Linked DNA regions of Homo sapiens: region 2 is linked to region 1. The links are contacts of gene promoters, found by promoter capture Hi-C in blood cells and fetal thymus (Javierre and others, 2016). All regions are on one chromosome and are shown on one strand. Each heading gives the region's core, a stretch centred on a gene start or on the middle of the fragment in contact. The rest is flanking DNA. Distances are from core to core; before and after follow the strand shown.

The links. Contacts are between HindIII fragments. The CHiCAGO score rates a contact against its expected background, and 5 or more counts as called.
Region 2: a fragment that was not itself captured here is called in contact with the fragment with the promoter of TENT4B in region 1 in 13 of 17 cell types (total CD8 T cells, naive CD4 T cells, activated CD4 T cells and 10 more); the score reaches 16.7 in total CD8 T cells.

The regions. Positions count from the first base shown.
Region 1 is chr16:50,148,284-50,154,762 of GRCh38, reverse strand. TENT4B (terminal nucleotidyltransferase 4B) reads right to left here and starts at 1,457. Exons shown (of 12, transcript NM_001365324.3): 1 at 504-1,457. The coding sequence starts at 1,141. It also overlaps the pseudogene RPL10P14 and the pseudogene LOC124900375. RefSeq lists silencers at 618-787, 908-957, 1,138-1,237, 1,468-1,627, 1,738-1,907 and 1 more and an enhancer at 1,444-2,401. The HindIII fragment of the contact is 13,709 bases long and covers 1-6,479 here.
Region 2 is chr16:50,668,730-50,675,191 of GRCh38, reverse strand. It overlaps LOC101927272 (a long non-coding RNA gene), which reads right to left and starts at 6,337. Exons shown (of 3, transcript NR_110908.1): 1 at 6,032-6,337; 2 at 4,199-4,509; 3 at 3,553-4,044. It overlaps SNX20 (sorting nexin 20), which reads left to right. Exons shown (of 4, transcript NM_182854.4): 4 at 1,118-3,563. The coding sequence ends at 1,786. The HindIII fragment of the contact is 1,314 bases long and covers 4,556-5,869 here.

The sequences.
Region 1 (6,479 bases), core at 208-2,707:
TGGATGTTTCTATTCTTGGCAAGGAAAGCACCTCCGGGTCCTGCACCATCAAAAAACACTCACACACCAATGTTCTCAGGGAATGAATGATAGGCCCGTGCTAAGCGGTCTCATCTTGAGTTGTGATGATGGGGAAAAAGGTGTGGAGGGCTGGAGGCGGGGTGGTGGTCAAGGGTAGATGTGTTTAACTAAGGGGGATGGGAGGAGAGTGAATGGATAAAGGGGGGGGCCTGGGGAAGGTGTGGACGGTTAAGAGGGAGGGGAGGAAGGTGTGGACGACTAAGGGAGGACAGGAGACGGAGGGTGTGGACGGCTAAGGAGGCTTGGGGAAAGGTGTGAACGACTGGGGGGTTGGGGATGGCCAGCAGCACCCCCGTGCAACAGCAGCGAAGGCAGGCCGTGGGGGTGGCCGCTCCTAGACCCTCACAACCCCCCTCTGTGGGCGTGTGCCCGGCTGCGCATTCGCACCGGCCAGGCCATCGGGCCGCAGAGCCAGCACTCACCCCACGACTCCCTGGTTGTAGTTCCTCCGTTTCCACGGGGTCCCGCTGTACACGACCCCGCCGCCGTCTGCTCGGCCGCCCCCCGCGGCCCGCCCTCCGCTGGGCTGCAGCAGGCTGTAGTTGAGTCCATACGTGCTGGCCTTGTTGTCGCGCTTCCTCTTGTTGCTGCTGCCCGAGGCCGAATCGGCTGGATCGGCGGCGGGGACGGCGGCCGAAGGGTGCGGGGACGAGGACGCCGAGGGAGGCGAGGACGCCGAGGAGCCCGCCCGGCGGGCCCAGGCCCCGGGCTGGTGGTGGTTGTTGTTGTTGTTGGTCGTCTCTAGGGGCAGGAAGTCCCGCTGCTCCGCGGGCAGCGCGTGGCTGCCCAGCAGGCGCTCCCCGGAGCGATACATGCCGGCCGGGGCCGGGGCCGGGGCCGAGGCCGCGCCGCCGGGGCTGCCGGTGCTGCTGCCGCTCCCGCCGGTGGCCGTGCTGCTGCTGCTGCTGCTGCCGCCGCCGCCGCTCGCGCCGCCGCTGCTGTGACAGTGGTGGTTGAAGTAGAGGTTCCTCAGCCCCTGGGTCGTCTCCCAGATCTGCATCCACAGACTGTTGGACGGTCCGAGCTGCTCTGGCTGAAACCAGGCGATCCTCGGATCCATCAAACGGCGGCGGCCGCTGCCCCCGCCCCTCCCGGCCGCCCGCAGGGCCGCCGCCGCCGCCGCCTCAGGCGCACGCCCGGCCTCGGCTGCTGCTGCTGCTGCCGCTGCTGCCGCTGCTGCTGCTGCTGCTGCTCGGGGCCCGCCGCGGGCGGCGCGGTCGCGCAGGGAGCCCGGCCGGCGCCGGCGGCGTCGCTCCCGCCCTCGGGGGCTCCGCGGGCCCTCCCCCCCTCCCTCCGCCCCTCCGCCCCTCCGCCGAGCCCCTGTCACTGGGGTCCCCGTGCAAATGGCGGCGGCGGCGGCGGCGGCTCCACAGAAGAGCGAGCGGCGGCGGCGGCAGCGGCGGCAGCGAGACGCGCCTGCTCCGTAGCGTCCTCGCTCCTCCGGCCCCGGGGCGGGGCCTCTGCCGGCTCCGCCCCTCTCGCTCCGCCCCCCCCCCCCACCGCCCCGCCCTCACGCGCTCGCCCCGCCCCCGCTGCGCCGCGCAGCAGCCCGGGAGGCCTCGCCGTGCGTCACAGAGGCCGCGGCGCGACGGGGCCGCAACCGCCTGGCCCAACCGTACTTGCGCCATCTGTGGAGTGCTCCCACGTACCTGGGCGTCCGGGAGCTTCTGAGGCGCGCGCGGCTTCTCCGCCTCGGCTTCCCCGGTGCTGAGCGTGGACGAGGCCGCATGGAGGTTGCCGCCCGCCCCGCAGGGAGCGCGTTGTGGGAGGTGCCACTCCGCCCCTCGCTCCTCGCCCCTCCCATCCCTGTGGCCGCCGGATCCCGGGCCCTCGCAACCCTTCCTGACGTCTTGGCTTCTGCCTGCTTTCTAAAACACTTTCTTTTTAAAAAAAAAAAAAAAAAAAAAAACAGCCTATAACACTTTTTCTGGTGGCGTGGGGACACGCCCCCTGCCCGAGCGTGTGCCCCGGGGTCCTGACGCGGGCTGCGCGAGACCCTGCACGGCTACGTGTGCCCCGCCCTGCTGCGCCCTGGCCGGGGTGGGGGACCCCTCACCCCGGCCTGAGGCCACAGAAACCTGTACCCCATGCATAGCCCTGGGGGAGACCACTAAGACTGAGAGTGTGAGCCAAGGGCGGAAAGCCGCAGCCGCACACTCAACCCACTTTACAGGGACACGCAAACACGTGTAGATGCACAGAGAAGCAGACACACTCCTGCGCGGCGTAGCAAAGACGCTCTCCTGCCCTAAGGTGCACCAACAGCCTTAGAAAGCTCTTCTGAGTTCAGCATTAAATTTTAAGAAAACCCAAAACCTTTTAATCCTAAAATGAAGATTTAGCATCAGCAAAGATTGTCCACTAGGTCGTTATTTGCATGTCTTTCAAATCTCAGTGGTTAAAAAGCCAAGGAAAGGGGAATGTTAAGTATTTTAAATCAAGAGACTAAAAGAAAGTAAGTGAACAGCTTCTATGTGGGCCCTTTAAGGTTGGTCCAACGTCCAGAACAAGTCCCTGATGCCTGATATTGGCCTTCCATTTTGGGAGCTCAATATCCTGGAAAGTTTTTATGACAAATAGTGGAAAACTATCAAAGAACTAAGTGTCGCTCTACCTTTTTCTTTCTTTCGAGACTAACTCTTGCTCTGTCATCTGGAGTTCAGTGACTCATTCACAGCTCACTGCAGGCTCGGCCTCTTGGGTTCAAGCGATCCTCTTGCCCCAGCCTCCGAGTAGCTAGGACTATAGGCACGCGTCAACATGGCATAGAGACGAAGTTGCTCTGCGCTGCCCAGGCTGGTCTGGAACTCCTGGACTTAAGCGATCCTCCTACCTCAGACTCCAAAACTGCTGGGATTACAAGGGGGTGAGCCACCACGCCTGACCTTACTTTTTTTTTTTTTTTTGGTAAGAGAATAAATAGCACGACCAGAAATACGGAAAACACACAAAGACCCTTCAGCTGCAAACAACAGCTTCCTTGGTAGTTTATGCAGCCTGTTTCTTGTATGGGCTGCTCTAAGGGACCATGGAGACAGGCCTTTCAGATGTATGTTCATGTCTTTGACCTTGCACTACGCCAATGTAGGCTCCAGGCAGATATTCGAGGTGCCTTTGAAAAGCTCCAGGGCACTGTGGCCAGGGTTCACATTGGCCAAGTTATCATGTCCATCTGCAACAAGCTGCAGAATAAGGAGCATGTGATTGAATCCCTGCTCAGGGCCAAGTTCAAGTTCCCTGGCTGCCAGAAGATCCACATTTCAAAGAAGTGGGGCTTCACCAAGTTCACTGCGGATGAATTTGAAGACATGGTGGCTGAAAAGCGGCTCATCGCAGATGACTGTGGGGTCAAGTACATCCCCATCATGGCCCTCTGGACAAGTGGCGTGCCCTGCCCTCGTGAGGGCTTCCACTGTGCTGCCCCCTCTTAATACTCCCCAGTAAATCCTACTTCCTGTCCACCAAAAACAAACAAAAAAAACCCTTCGGAATTTTGATTCATTCAATTTGATTGTTGCTGTTGCTTTACTAGAAATCAGTATTAAAAGTTTTCTCTGTCCGGGGGCGGTTGCTCACACTTGTAATCCCAGCGTTTTGGGAAGTCAAGGCAGGCAGATCACCTGAGGTCGGGAGTTCGAGACCAGCCTGACCAACACGGAAAAACCCCATCTCTACTAAAAATACAAAATTAGCCGGGTGTGGTGGCGCATGCCTGTAATCCCAGCTACTTAGGAGGTTGAGGCAGGAGAATCACATGAACCCAGGAGGTGGAGGTTGTGGTGAGCCGAGATCTCGCCATTGCACTCCAGCCTGGGTGACAGAGCGAGACTCCATCTCAAAAAAAAAAAAAAAAAAAAGTTTTCCCTGAATGAAATTTGCTATGTACTAATTATTACATAGCCAGGAAAATAAGTAGCCGTATTTTTTGTGTTATTTACACTGACAAAAATAAAACATTGTATAGAAATAGATTTTGTTTGCTGACCTCATATTTGTTTTAAAAATTGAATCTCTGGCCGGGCGTGGTGACTCACACCTGTAATCCCAACATTTTGGGAGGCTGACGCGGGCAGATCATGAGCTCAGGAGTTCCCGAGACCAGCCTGGCCAATGTGGTGAAACCCCGTCTCTACTAAAAATACAAAAAATTAGCCGGGTGTGGTGGCACATGCCTGTAATCCCAGCTACTTGGAAGGCTGAGGCAGGAGAATCATTTGAACCTTGGAGGCAGAGGTTTTGGTGCGCCGAGATCGCGTCATTGCACTCCAGCCTAGGTGACACAGTGAGACTCTGTCTCAAAAAAAAAAAATTATATATATATATATCTATCTCTCTCTCTCTCTCAGCAGGATGCAGTGGCTCATGCCTGTAATCCCAGCACTTTGGAAGACTGAGGTGAGAGGATTACTTGAAGCCAGGAGTTTGAGAACAGCCTAGGCAACATGGTGAGACCTCTGTCTCTACAAAAAATTTAAAAATGAGCTGGGCCTTTTCCTTTAACGTAGGATCAAGGTAATAAAAAAGAAAAAAATATTCAACATGAAATTTGGAGGAGACAGATATCCAAACTATTATCAGATGCTAATTCATCAGTTACACCATAGTAATATCCTAAGTATGTTAAGTAAAAGGCTTTCTTCAGCAAAGTATCAGAGATACATTTGATTTACATACTTTTGTAAACTCTGTCTTCTCAGGATGCTGGGTACTTAAGATCCATGCTTTCAGGCCAAGTGTGGTGGCTCACGCCTGTAATCCCAGCAATTCGGGAGGCTGAGGCAGGCAGATCGCTTGAGGTCAGTAGTTTGAGACCAGCCTGGCCAACATGGTGAAACTCCATCTCTACTTAAAAAAAGAAATTAGCCGGGCATGGTGGCCCACATCTCTAAGGCCAGTTACTCAGGAGGCTGAGGTGGGAGAATCACTTGAACTTGGGAGGCAGAGGTTACAGTGAGCCGAGATCGTGCCACTGCACTCCAGCCTGGGCGACAGAGCTAGACTCCGTCTCAATAAATAAATAAATAAATAAATAAAATTAGCTGTGCTTGGTGGCGAGTGCCTGTGGTCCCAACTACTCGGGAGGCTGAGGTGGGAGTATGGCTTGAGCACAGGAGGTCGAGGCTACAGTGAGCCATGTTTGTGACACTGCACTCCAGCCTGAGTGAGATCCTGTCTTAAAAATAAAAATAAAAATGACCAGGCGCAGTGGCTCATGCCTGTAATCCCAGTACTTTGGGAGGCTGAGGCAGGAAGATCACTTGAGCCCAGAAGTTCAAGACCAGCCTGGGCAACACAGCGAGATTTTTGTCTCAAAAGAGAAGAAAAGGAAATAAAACTAAAAAATTTAAATATATTTTCTTAAACCCTGCTTGAAAAAAAAAAATTCAGGAGAGGCATGGTGGATTACACCTATAATCCCAGTGCTTTGGGAGGTTTAGGCCGGAAGGTGGCTTGAGGCTTGGAGTTTGAGACCAGTCTGGGCAATATAGCAAGACCCTGCCTGTAAAAATAATAATAATAATAGTAATAATAATAAAATTTTTAAATTCAATCTCAAGACATAAGGTCAGGAAAACATTTTTCTTTTTAATTCAAATAAGAACAATGGAAAGCCCAAAACACTAAACATTATTGGCTGGGCGCGGTGGCTCACACCTGTAATCCCAGCACTTTGGGAGGCTGAGGTAGGAGGATCACTTGAGGTCAGGAGTTTGAGACCAGCCTGACCAACATGGTGAAACCCCATCTCTACTAAAAATACAAAAAATGTAGCCGGGGTGGTGGCGCACACAAGTAGTCCCAGCTACTCTGGAGGCTGAGGTGGAAGGATCACTTGAACCCGGGAGGCAGAGGTTGCAGTCAGCTGAGATTGCACCACTATACTCCAGCCTGGGTGACACAGCGAGACTCCATCAAAAAAAAAAAAAAACAGATGTTATCAAGGTCCCACCAACAGAAATGCCCACTGTGAAAATTGTTAAACATTCATCCAAAAATCTCTCCATGCATATGTACATGTTGAAATACAGGTATATATTCCAGTCTCTTAAAATATTTCTTTAGGACCAGGCACGGTGGCTCACACCTGTAATCCCAGCACTTTGGAAGGCAGAGGCAGATGGATCACTTGAGGTCAGGAGTTTGAAAGCAGCCTGGACAACATGGTGAAACCCCATCTCTACTAAAAACACAAAAATTAGCTGGGCCTCATAGGCGCACACCTGTAATCCCAGCTACTTGGGAGGCTGAGGCAGGAGAATCACTTGAACCTAGGAGGCAGAGGTTGCAGTGAGCCGACATTGCACCACTGTACTGTAGCCTGGGTGACAGAATGAAACCCTGTCTCAAAAAAATAAATAAAATAAAATATTTATTCAGACATTCTAGAACACATTAAA
Region 2 (6,462 bases), core at 3,963-6,462, 520 kb before region 1:
GTTAAGGGATGTTAAAGACTGCCTAAGAGCCACACTTCATCCTTCTCCTTCACTTACCTGGGACCGGGATAAATAACATAGCTACCACTGAATGCCAATGGCATGCCGGGCACAGCTCCATGTGGTTTCAGTGCATTAACTCATTTAATCCTCACTGGGTGAGGTAGGCACTATGCCTATCCTTGTTTTATGAATGAGAAAAGTGAGACTCGGAGAGGTTAAATTACTCATCTAAAACCACACAGCTAGACCATGGTAGGGCTATAATTACAACCCATGCAATCTGGCTCTGGAGTCAGATGCATGGGTTATAATTGCCCTTAATATATAATTGCCCGTAATCAGGATTCTCTTGAAAGATGATTGAAAAGGATTGATTTTCTTACCATATAACGGCATCACCAGTGTACCTAAATGATGTTATATTGTACGTAAAACTAATTCCCAAGTGTGAAACATTTGGAAAACACAGCATCTCAGTTCAGAAAACAGAGGCCCAGTTTTAGCAAGTAAAGCCAAGAGGGACCCCAGCAGCCTGCAGGGCAGGACCCTCTGCCCTTTCTCCTCCCAGATGTCCCCACCTTGCTGTGTTGTTGTTCCAGGGTTGACTCAGCTGATGCCAATAGCAATTTAAAACAGAATTGGGCCAGGTGCAGTGGCTCATGCCTGTAATCCCAGCACTTTGGGAGGCCCAGGTAGGAGGATCGCTTGAGCCCAGGAGTTGGAGACCAGCCTGGGCAACACAGCCAGACCCCATCTTTTAAAAAAAATCAAAAAATCTGCCAGGTAGTGGGTGTGCCTGTAGTCCCAGCTACTCAGGAGGCTCAGGTGGGCAGGTCAATTGAGCCCATAAGTTCAAGGTTGCAGTGAGGTATGATCGCATCACTGTACTCCAGCCTGGGTAACAGTGCGAGACCCTGTCTCTAAAAATAAATAAATAAATAAATAAATAAATAAATAAACAAACAAACAAACAAACAAACAAACAATTGCATATAAGGATCGCCCGTTTTCAGGGCATGCTTTACACCGGCCTGGTTAACTTTACTCTGGGTGTGCTCCGTCCGCCGCAGCCCCCGCCGGGAGGTGGCCACAGCTCTCTCTGGTTGCGCCCTAGGTGTACCAAATCATCGTCATCCAGACTGGGAGCTTTGACAACAACAAGGCCGTCCTGGAACGGCGCTATTCCGACTTCGCGAAGCTCCAGAAAGCGCTGCTGAAGACGTTCAGGGAGGAGATCGAAGACGTGGAGTTTCCCAGGAAGCACCTGACTGGGAACTTCGCTGAGGAGATGATCTGTGAGCGTCGGCGCGCCCTGCAGGAGTACCTGGGCCTGCTCTACGCCATCCGCTGCGTGCGCCGCTCCCGGGAGTTCCTGGACTTCCTCACGCGGCCGGAGCTGCGCGAGGCTTTCGGCTGCCTGCGGGCCGGCCAGTACCCGCGCGCCCTGGAGCTGCTGCTGCGCGTGCTGCCGCTGCAGGAGAAGCTCACCGCCCACTGCCCTGCGGCCGCCGTCCCGGCCCTGTGCGCCGTGCTGCTGTGCCACCGCGACCTCGACCGCCCCGCCGAGGCCTTCGCGGCCGGAGAGAGGGCCCTGCAGCGCCTGCAGGCCCGGGAGGGCCATCGCTACTATGCGCCTCTGCTGGACGCCATGGTCCGCCTGGCCTACGCGCTGGGCAAGGACTTCGTGACTCTGCAGGAGAGGCTGGAGGAGAGCCAGCTCCGGAGGCCCACGCCCCGAGGCATCACCCTGAAGGAGCTCACTGTGCGAGAATACCTGCACTGAGCCGGCCTGGGACCCCGCAGGGACGCTGGAGATTTGGGGTCACCATGGCTCACAGTGGGCTGTTTGGGGTTCTTTTTTTTTATTTTTCCTTTTCTTTTTTGTTATTTGAGACAGTCTTGCTCTGTCACCCAGACTGAAGTGCAGTGGCTCAATTATGTCTCACTGCAGCCTCAAACTCCTGGGCACAAGCAATCCTCCCACCTCAGCCTCCCAAGTAGCTGGGATTACAGGTGCACACCACCACACCAGGCTAATTTTTAATTTTTTAGTAGAGACAGGGTCTCTCTGTTGCCCAGGCTGGTCTCTAACTTCTGACCTTAAATGATCTTCCTGCCTCAGCTTCCCAAAACACTGGGGTTACAAGTGTGAGCCACCACCCCTGGCCTGGGGTTCATTTTTAATGGGAAAAGCCACTGGGGGCTCTAACTCGCTGGGTGACTTTGGACAAGCCCCTCCTCTGGTCCTCAATTTCTCCATCTGTATTGGACAGAGGTGCTCCTGGGACCCCTTGGAAGCCTCTGCTTGTGTCCCACGTCCTCTTGATGCCAGGGCCACTTCATCTCCAAAACACAAAACCAACTGCCAAAACCGTCCAGAGCAGTGTCCACCCCACCAGTGTCTTTGTGGGAAGCTGGAGAAGAAGTTTACCTCACACATTCTAGACAAAACTTAGTCCATTTCCTTGAAGACAGTTCTCTCCAGCTGCTCCAAGGCTTTTCTCTCTGTTCCTTCCACCTTGGAATTGCTTTAAAATATTTCCATCCATTATCCTAATACTATCTTAGTATTCTAGCCCTTCCCCCTTACCATGTAGACCTGACAAAGCAAAACAAAAGCTCACCTATTGCCCTCAAGAACAGCCTCTACACACACACACACACACACACACACACACACACACACACACACGGTGGGAGTTGTATGCCATCCTTTTGAAGGGTGGGAGGACCCTGGACCAGAAAGCAATAATGGCATAAGATTCTGTGATACCAGGCATTTTTGGCAAGGGAAGTTGCCAACAATTTTTCTGGCTGGGATGGCATAGCACATTGTCTAGGGGTGGATTTTCATTCATAAGGCAGCTGTTCCCTGAATGGCTTCCCTGGGTTATGTAGAAACAGCCTGGGGAGGAGGTGATACAACATACTTAATGGGGCCTCTGGGCAGAAAACAGACTGAATCCTCAACACTGCCCCTTTTGAGGGTCTGTGATCCTGGAACTTCTCTGATGGACTGGGATGCCCTTAACTGAGGTCTGCTGTCTGGAAAGGACACCACAGGCCCAGAATGAAGGGGCATCTGGACCAATGACCTAGATTCAACACAGGGCTTGGAGCTGGTGGTACAGGCTGGTTTTGGCCCAATGTGTGTTGGAGGCTGGAAGCCCCTGAAGACCTAAACTGCCTGGATGAGCTTATTAGGGTGAATTAATGAGTCTGTAATTTGGGAACCTTAATGTGAGACACCACTTAAGGAGAGGAACTTGGCCCAGCAAGTGATCACTCTAGAAGTGGACAGCTATGCACTAGACTGCACCAGAATCTGTTCAACAGCGACACCTTGTGGTAAAAACTGTAGACGCCCCATCAGGCTGGATGGGAAACTAGAAACAGACTGTCTCATCTTTGGACAGATATCCCTCAAATCTCCCAATCTACTCCAGGGAAAAGACACTTCAAGTGAGAGATATTGGACTTCTTGAAAATCTAGGCCTATGGAAAATTAAAGTGTTAAATGGAAAAATTAAAGAGCTATGAGTCTATTTGTAATGATGAAACAGATGATATTGATTTTGTCAGTTATTTCTTCAAATCTAAAATGCTATCAACAATATGCAACAAATGTTTACTAACAAAGAAAAAATACCCAACATGGACAGTTTAATGGGATATTCCAGCACAAAAGCTGGAAAAGCAAAGAGTTAGACCCCCGATATGAGGGTTAACACCAAATAAGCCTGTTGTACAGGAGGGGACATTAAGGAAATTTGCACAAACTAAACTTGGCACTGGGTGGAGTACAGGGAACTTCCTCTGAGAATTTGAACTGCAAGCGGGCACTCGCCCATGTTTTAGGGCTGAATACACACAGCATGGTCCAAAATCCCTCAAGCAGAGAAATCATGTTAAAGTGGTCTCAGGTGGAGGTGTTCCAGGTGCCTCAAGACCTGGAGATCTTTAGGTCTTCCCTGGGGCTGAAGGATGTCAGCATCAAGCCAGGCCTATAAGAAGTGTAGGATCCTGTTGAGTTCAGAGGTGCTGAAATGTGAAAAAAAAAAGTCATCTCAAAATCACAGATAGATGATATGTGTGGGGTGTTGGGGGGGTGGGGCGGGGGGTGCACACAGAGAGAAAATACTTATATGGGAGTAAAGGAGCCTATAGAATCACATGGGGGGTTCCCCATAAGTACCTCTGAAGAGGGGTTGGCTTCCCACACAGTGCACAGGAAATGGATTTATTCAGGCTTCCCAAAAAGGGACTGGCCACATGGGGCAGCTTCAGGACCATCACTTTGCCTTTTCCCGATGACACTCAATGCTGCCCCTCCTCGTGCTTCTGGCAGCCTTGGCCTGAGCATCCACGGGAGTTTCTTCTGGCCATGGACACTGCATCTTCATCCACTACAAGTTGTCTGATGGACTGGGATGGCCTGCCACAGCCAGCTCCTCCTGGCATCTCCCATATGCTGCAGCAGTTAGAGCCCACTCGTTCCTTGGGTTCCTGGAACAAGTCCTTGAATTCCTTAGGCCCCCACCTCCAGCAAGCTTTCCGCAGGGCCCACTGCAGCCCCACCGGGGTACCCCACCTCCCTGTTTGCCTGGGCCCTCTCCCACGCCACCTGTATTAGTCCTTGTTTCTAGGGGACTTTAGAGTGGTGGCAGCTGGGACTGAACATTCTTCTCCTGACCCCTCAAAAGCTGGGTCCACAGGAGAGGTGAGGGGGTACCTGACCTCCATACCCAGGATGGAGCCTTGTTAGGAACACAGAATTTCAGGCCCCACCCTAGACCTGCTTAATCGGAGTCTGCACTTTAACAAGAGCATCCCCCACTGCCGCAGGTGACTCTTACCTGCATACCTCAAAGGTTGAGAAGCCCAGTGTTGAACTGACTTGAAGGCACCTCAATGAAAATCATCCATGGAACTGGGCCATCTGTGGTCCTGGGTTCATCCCCATCCTTCTCTTCTCTCCACCCGGGCCCTCTACCATACAGGTGCCTCATCCCAGGGGACTGCAGATGGGACTACCATGCCAGCCTCACAACCATACCTGCAAAACCACTCTGGGCATTTGGACTGGAGCTTAAAGGGGTTCATTCCAATGAAGCCCTCCCTGCTGCAGCAGCCACTCCCCCCCACTGGCTGTGATGGAGTCCTGGGGTCTCCACTTTGAGCTGGGATTAGGCATCCTCATGAGACCCTGTCCCCTGGGATGCCGGCAGTTCCCTGCCAAGCCCACAATTGAAAACAAGCTCTGCAAGCAGCTCCCTGTGCGGTAAAAGTCAGGGCTCCCCAGGCCTACTGTGTGACCAGGCACTGCCGGGCCATTGATAGCACCGTCACTCCAGCTCTGCTTGGGACATGTTCCTATCCCATTTTTCAGTTGAGGAAAATGTGATCATTTGTAACATTGTAACCTGAGGGGGTTAAGTGACTTGCCCAGGGTTACACAGCTAATAACTGGACCAGGAAATTAAGACCAGGCTTTAATTTGACCCAAGCCCTACTTTCCTTGCTGAACTCCACATTAAAGGATGTGGAGGAGAGGGGAAGGGATATGTTCCTGGTCCCCTCACCGAAATGGGTCCTTGATATGGTTTGGATGCATGGTGGTCACCTCCAAATCTCATGCTGAATGTGACTCCCAGTGTTGAAGGTGTGGCCTGGTGGGAGATGTTTGGCTCATGGGGGCAGGTCCCTCATGGATGGCTTGGTGCCCTCCCCGTGGTAATGAATGAGTTCTCACTCTGTTAGTTTACATGAGAGCTGGTTGTTTAGAAGAGCCTGACATGGCTCTTGCTCCCTCTCTTGCCATGTAAGTCACGAACTCCCCCTTCCCCTTCCACCATAAGTGGAAGCTTCCTGAAGCTTCACAAGAAGCAATGCTGGTGCCATGCTTCTGTACAACCTGCACAACTGTGAGCCAAATAACCCTCTTTTCTTTATAAGCTACCCAACCTCAGGTATTCCTTTATAGCAATGCAAAATGGACTGACACGCCTTTAAAGATCATTTCACTCACCTCTGTTTACAGATGGGGAAATCAAGGCCTGGAGAGATGACTTATCCAGGGTCACGTGGCGAGACAGGGACAGCACCAGAACCAGACCCGAGATGTCCACGTCAAAGTGACATGCTCTGAGAGGCAGCACACACAGAATAACCCTGCATCCAAATTCCAGGAAGCTCTTAGGGGTCATCCAGCTGGGCCTAGGGGTGCAGGGTCAGTGCTGAGGCCTGGGCAGGGCCGCTAGCCTCCCTGAGCTTTCTGGCTTCAGGCTGGGAGGCACAGTTCAGGGTGGACTGTGACCCCTTGGCCTAGAATGCCCTTAGCTCTGCTCTCTAGTGGCTGTCCCCATAGCTGGAACTCTGTTTTGGAGTGGCAAAACCAGTTCCACCTGCTGGTAGGGGTAGGTTGGCTCCCAACACATCCCCAGCAGGCCTCTCTTGGGC